Linked DNA regions of Homo sapiens: region 1 is linked to region 2. The links are contacts of gene promoters, found by promoter capture Hi-C in blood cells and fetal thymus (Javierre and others, 2016). All regions are on one chromosome and are shown on one strand. Each heading gives the region's core, a stretch centred on a gene start or on the middle of the fragment in contact. The rest is flanking DNA. Distances are from core to core; before and after follow the strand shown. Region 1 overlaps RNF123 (ring finger protein 123). Region 2 holds the start of MST1R (macrophage stimulating 1 receptor).

Region 1 (2,700 bases), core at 170-2,669, 200 kb before region 2:
CAGTGGGGATTCCTGCAAGATCTTTAAGGAGGCAGCTCTTCCTGCTTCCCAGAATTGTTGGGAACTGCATGAGTGAGTGAGAGCATAGCTTTGAGCCCCTGGCTGGGAAGCCTCAGCTTGTAGCCGTTTTCTTGGTCTGGGGTCTTCCAGCCTCCAGGAGGCAGACACAAAGCTGGGAGACACAGAGGTCAGAGTTGGGGCCTGAGAAAAGGCCACCAGTCCCTCTCTCCAGCTTGTCCCACAGTCATCTGTTCCTGTGACAAGCCCTTATCGTGCACCTGCTGGGTACTGGAGCTGGTGGGCTTAACCACCACAGCTTTTTGTCAGGGAGCATGCCCTGGGGGTCAGACACATAGCAGCAACATGCCCCTGTGGTGGTGGGAGAGCTGTGGTAGGCACATCCAGGGATGGGCTCCTGGGGAAGGACTCTTGAGGGTGTGCAGAGTGCCCTTTGGCAAGCAGAGCCCTGCCTTGACACCCGCCAGCTTCGACGTGCTCCGCTCCGTCGTCTTCTTTTACATCAAGAGCCCCCTGCGTGTGGAGGAGGCCGGCCTGCAGGAGCTCATTCCCACCACCTGGTGGCCCCACTGCTCCAGTAGGGAGGTGAGTGCACCCCAAGTGGGATGGGCAGAGGTCATGGCAAGGCCCCTGGCCTGGGCATCTGGCCACTGGGCATCTAGCATGAGGCCTTTTCACTGGCCCTGGTCCCTGAAGCCCTGGAGATGGAGTGTGGGTGTTCTGAGTGAAGGAGGCCTGGCTAGGTCCCAGGTGACCCTGCTGTATTCCACCTGCTACCCCTGCCTAGGGCAAAGAGAGCACGGAGATGAAGGAGGAGACCGCAGAGGAGCGGCTGCGGCGGCGAGCCTACGAACGGGGCTGTCAGCGGCTCAGGAAGCGCATCGAAGGTCAGCCCGCCTTGGGCACGGGGTAGGGTGGGAGGTGTGTGTGTGCACATGAGGGTGCTTGGAGGTGCCCATGTCTAGGTGGGACTTGGGGAACCCTGGTGGTGGAGCCCTGGCCCAAACCTGCCCCCCATCTCCTGGAGCCTGAGGGCCATGTTCCTCACCTGACCTCCAGTGGTGGAAGAACTACAGGTCCAGATCCTGAAGCTGCTGCTGGACAATAAAGATGACAATGGGGTGAGTGACTCCCAGGAGCCCTGGGTGGGGCCCTGTGGGGAGGGATGCTGCACTGGGCCTTAAGACCCAGAGGGTGGGAACTGGGTTTGGTTCCCATGGCAGGGGCTGGGGGAAGGTGCAGCACTGAGCCAGCCCAGTCTGGGCCTGCATTCTCAGCTCAGCACAGCCTCACTTTTCCCTCTCTCAAAGGGTGAAGCTTCTAGGTATATCTTCCTGACCAAGTTTCGCAAGTTTCTGCAGGAGAACGCCAGTGGCCGGGGGGTAGGTGTCCTCCAGGCCAGCCCACTGTGGATCCCCGGCTGCACTACACATGCCATGCCCTCAGCACCTGGCACTTCTCGGACTGCCTCATCCCTGCCTAGCCCCAAGCTTTTCTCTGCTGCTTTTCCCTCCCTGCTTAACCCTCGACCCTCAGGCAGGGCCTTGGATGAGGAATGGGCAAGGCACTGGACTGGCACCAATGCATGTTTCATGCCTGGTGTCCACAGAACATGCCCATGCTCTGCCCCCCTGAGTACATGGTCTGCTTCTTACACCGGCTGATCTCTGCCCTGCGCTACTATTGGGATGAATACAAGGCTTCCAATCCTCATGCTTCCTTCAGTGAGGGTGAGTGGCACCGGGGTCCCAGGTCAGTGAGGCTGGACAGAGCCAGGCGTAGGGCAGCCCCTAATGTTAGTGCAGAGTGCTGAGCTGAGGCTGTGGGCTGTGGGGAGTTGTCCCCGGCATCCTGCCTGGTTGAGTCCTACCCAGCCACAGGCGGCTTCTCCACTGGGGCAGCAGGAGCCCTGCACCGCAGGCCTGCCGATCCTGTGTTTGCTCTGATTGTCCCACGGGCTCCTACCATTGTGGGCTCTTTTCTTCCGTCCTTGCCCCCCCATTTCTCTGTGCGTCCTTTATAGGGCTGCCTTGGGTGGGTGCTGGGGGGCCCTGTGTTTGAGTCCCCAAGGGTCAGTGGGAGCCTTACCTGCCCTGGATTGGGGGATATCCCACAGGACTGGGGCTGGGCCTCTCTGCTTCTCCTGAGTGAACGGCTGCCATGAGTACCCCCATCACCCCAAGTTATGCAGCTGCTGGCTCTGACCTGAAATGGCAGGGGTGGAGAAGAGGTAGGGGAGGTCTGTTTCTTGGTCCAGGAGACAGTTTCTCTGTCTGCCTGGATGGGTGAGTGGCCAAAGCCAGAATTCCCAGGCTGTGCTAGGCCAGATTGGAGGGGAGGGCTGTGGGGAGGGTCTTCCTACTGGGCCGTGACCACTGGCCTAGCCTCCTCAATTCCTCGCAGAGGCCTACATCCCGCCCCAGGTCTTCTATAATGGCAAGGTGGACTACTTTGACCTGCAGCGCCTGGGGGGCCTCCTCTCGCACCTGCGGAAGACCCTCAAAGGTGTGTACAGGCCTGTGGGCCGGGAGCAGTTCTGGGGCCAGGTGGGGGACTGTCCCTGAGCCTGCTCTGCTGTGGATGCTGAGCCATCCTATGGCCACCAGAGGGTGCCCAAGTCTTTCCACCCACTCAGGCAGGGAGACACTGATCTGCCTGCCCTACATCTGGGCAGCTTCTCTT
Region 2 (2,700 bases), core at 38-2,537:
CCTCGGCGATGCTCAGCTCAGTGGCAAGTTGGGCACCCACTGGAGCGGAGTGGGCCACCCGCAGCACAGGGTAGGGCTGTCCGCCTTCTGGGGCCCCCCGGCGCCTGCGTTTTGGAGCAAATCTGCAGTCGAGGACCAGCTCCCGATAGTCACCCAACTCTGGCTCAGTGGCGCTAAGCCGTGCCAGGCGTGTGTGCAGGGCACTAGGATCATCTGTCACGCTGGCCGGCTGTACAGTCAGGAAGTATACGAAGGCTCCCGTGTGGAAGCTGTGCACGTATTCAATACTGTAGGAGACAAGATGCTTGGGCAGCACTGACAACGCCACAAAGCCCGGTGCGAATCCCGAGGCGTCAGCCTTGAGACGCCTGATAGACACTGAGCGTGGGCTGAAGCTGGCAGCCACGGCTGCGTCCAGTGAGGATGCCACGTAGAAATAGGAGGCCTGGCCTTGCTCAACCACAGTTACACGGGTGCCCAATGGGCTGGCCACACAGTCGGGGCAGTCATCGGGCCGGTTATGGTGGGCTGAGAAGAGGCAGGCTGGCGCTGCCAGATGCACGGCTGTCCCTTGGGGCTCTAGGTCATGCAGGAAGCAGCGGCCCTGCAGGCTGGAGCCACAACTGACCAGCGCAGGCAGCGCGGGATCCAGCACCAGCACCTTTGTGTCTGTGTCACCGGGAGGGCCGTGGGGTCCTGGGCCACAGGCTGCACACGTCTGGCAGCCAGGGTCTCCAGCAGGGCCCGTGGCCAGGCTCTGGACAGACTTCAGGTCAGGCCCAAGCACATGCAGGCGATTGCGTATGGCTACAAACACAGCACTCTCATTTCTGTCGCCCTCGTAGGTCACCATGGCCTGTACCAGGCCTCCGGCGGAGAAGCTGGGCACCACGTACTTCACGTCAAAGTCGCGAGAGGCCGCGTAGGGGGTGCGCGGGCACTGCCAGTCCTCGCCCGCCGCGGGCTTGGCAGGCAACAGCAGCAGCAACAGGAAGGACTGAGGCAGCGGCGGGAGGAGCTCCATCGAGGCGAGCTGGGACCCTAGAGGATCCCTACCGGCCTGGGCCTGGACCTGGGCGTGGGCCTGGCTGGGGGCCCGACTCGAGGTCTGGACTGGGCCAAATTTAAGCAGCGGTCCCGACAGCCCCAAGATAGCGGACCCCCGCCCCAGGTTCCTGTGAAACCCAAATCCCTTCCCGGCCCTCGGGTCTGAGCACCTGACGCCTGCGGACGCACGACAGCAACGCCCCAGCCGCCTCACCTGCCGCCCCAGCCGCCGCTGTACACTGGCGCTTAGCGCTCAGCCGACCCGAGGGCGCCGGGCTGGGCGGGCGGAGTCGGGCCGTGGGGGCGGGGCCGCGAGGAAGGCTTGGCCTAGCCCAGGCCCTCCGCCCATCCGACTCTTCCGGCCCTTGGAGGCCTGGCTCCTGTACCTTCACCTGGCGTCTTGGCGCCTTTTTCTCAGCGGCCTGTGGGTGGATGTGCATGGTGTGGCCTGGAGAGAGGTGAGCCAGTCTGAGCCGTCCCATCCCATCCCCCCACTACCGACTGGTTCGCAGCGAGAAGGGGGGCAGGACACTGGGCTCTTTGCTTGCGGTGGAACTAGTTTGCACTTAGTAGCAACACCCTCAGTGGCTGGTGCCCAGAGGTGGCCTGGGGGCCCACCATGTGGAGAACAGAGACCAGGATTGTGTGGAAGACCAGAGGGGAGATGTGGGGCACTTACAAGAGATGTTATGGGGCGCCACCCTTTGTGGGAAAGGACTGTCCTTTTTTTTTTTTGAGAAGGAGTCTTGCTCTGTGGCCCAAGCTGGATTGCAGTGGCGCGATCTCGGCTCACTGCAAACTCCGCCTCCCAGGTTCAAGCGATTCTCCAGCCTCAACCTCCTCCTGTCTCAACCTCCTGAATAGCTGGGATTACAGGCGCGCACCACCACACCCGGCTAATTTTGTATTTTTAGTAGAGACAGGATTCACAGTGTTGGCCAGGCTGGTCTCAAACTCCTGACCTCAGGTGATCCGCCCGCCTCAGCCTCCCAAACTGTTGGGATTACAGGCGTAAGCCACCGCGCCCGGCCGGGACCATTCTTCCATGTGCTTCTCCTGAGCTATCAGCGACAAGATGGTGTCAGAGGAAGGTGTGTTATGCCCTGCTCTCCCAGGGCCATAAGGGTCTTAGGATGGGATCTGGCCTTGCTGACTGGACCTCAGAGTCAGAGAGGCACGTAAGTGGAGGCCCATACCTCCTCTGCAGCCTCAGTATATGGAAGCTGTATAATGGGGTCCACAGTATGGGCCTTGGGGACTCCCCCTTCCTTCCTGGCTCTACCCAGTGCCCCCCTGATATGGAGGAATCATGGGCTTTGGCTCTCAGGACACTTCCAACATGCTCTGTAGGCCTTGCTGGATCTTATTCTCTTCAATGAGAATGTAGTTCTGGGCTGGGCACCGTGGCTCATGCCTGTAATCCTAGCACTCCTTTGAGGGGCCAAGGCAGGAGGATTGCTTGAGGTTAGGAGTTCAAGACCAGCCTGGGCAACATAACAAAACTCAACAAAACAAAAAAACTGCTAAAAATGTTTTTAAAATAAAATATGTGACCGGGCGTGGTGGCTCACGCCTGTAATCCCAGCACTTTGGGAGGCCGAGGCGGGTGGATCGCTTGAGGTCAGGAGTTCAAGACCAACATGGTGAACAGAC

Evidence for each region. Contacts are between HindIII fragments. The CHiCAGO score rates a contact against its expected background, and 5 or more counts as called.
Region 1: a contact is called between a fragment that was not itself captured here and the fragment with the promoter of MST1R in region 2, in 3 of 17 cell types (endothelial precursors, megakaryocytes and erythroblasts). The highest score is 5.9, in endothelial precursors.

Annotation. Positions count from the first base shown.
Region 1 is chr3:49,701,006-49,703,705 of GRCh38, forward strand. It overlaps RNF123 (ring finger protein 123), which reads left to right. Exons shown (of 39, transcript NM_022064.5): 16 at 486-603; 17 at 806-905; 18 at 1,078-1,139; 19 at 1,329-1,400; 20 at 1,628-1,748; 21 at 2,422-2,523. Among named protein-coding and RNA genes, the nearest start is that of RNF123, 13 kb to the left of the region's middle. RefSeq lists a silencer at 2,551-2,700. The HindIII fragment of the contact is 173 bases long and covers 1,334-1,506 here.
Region 2 is chr3:49,902,586-49,905,285 of GRCh38, forward strand. It overlaps MST1R (macrophage stimulating 1 receptor), which reads right to left and starts at 1,288. Exons shown (of 20, transcript NM_002447.4): 1 at 1-1,288. The coding sequence starts at 1,024. RefSeq lists enhancers at 1-312, 313-986, 1,623-1,672, 1,661-2,333 and a silencer at 1,213-1,432. The HindIII fragment of the contact is 26,972 bases long and covers 1-2,700 here.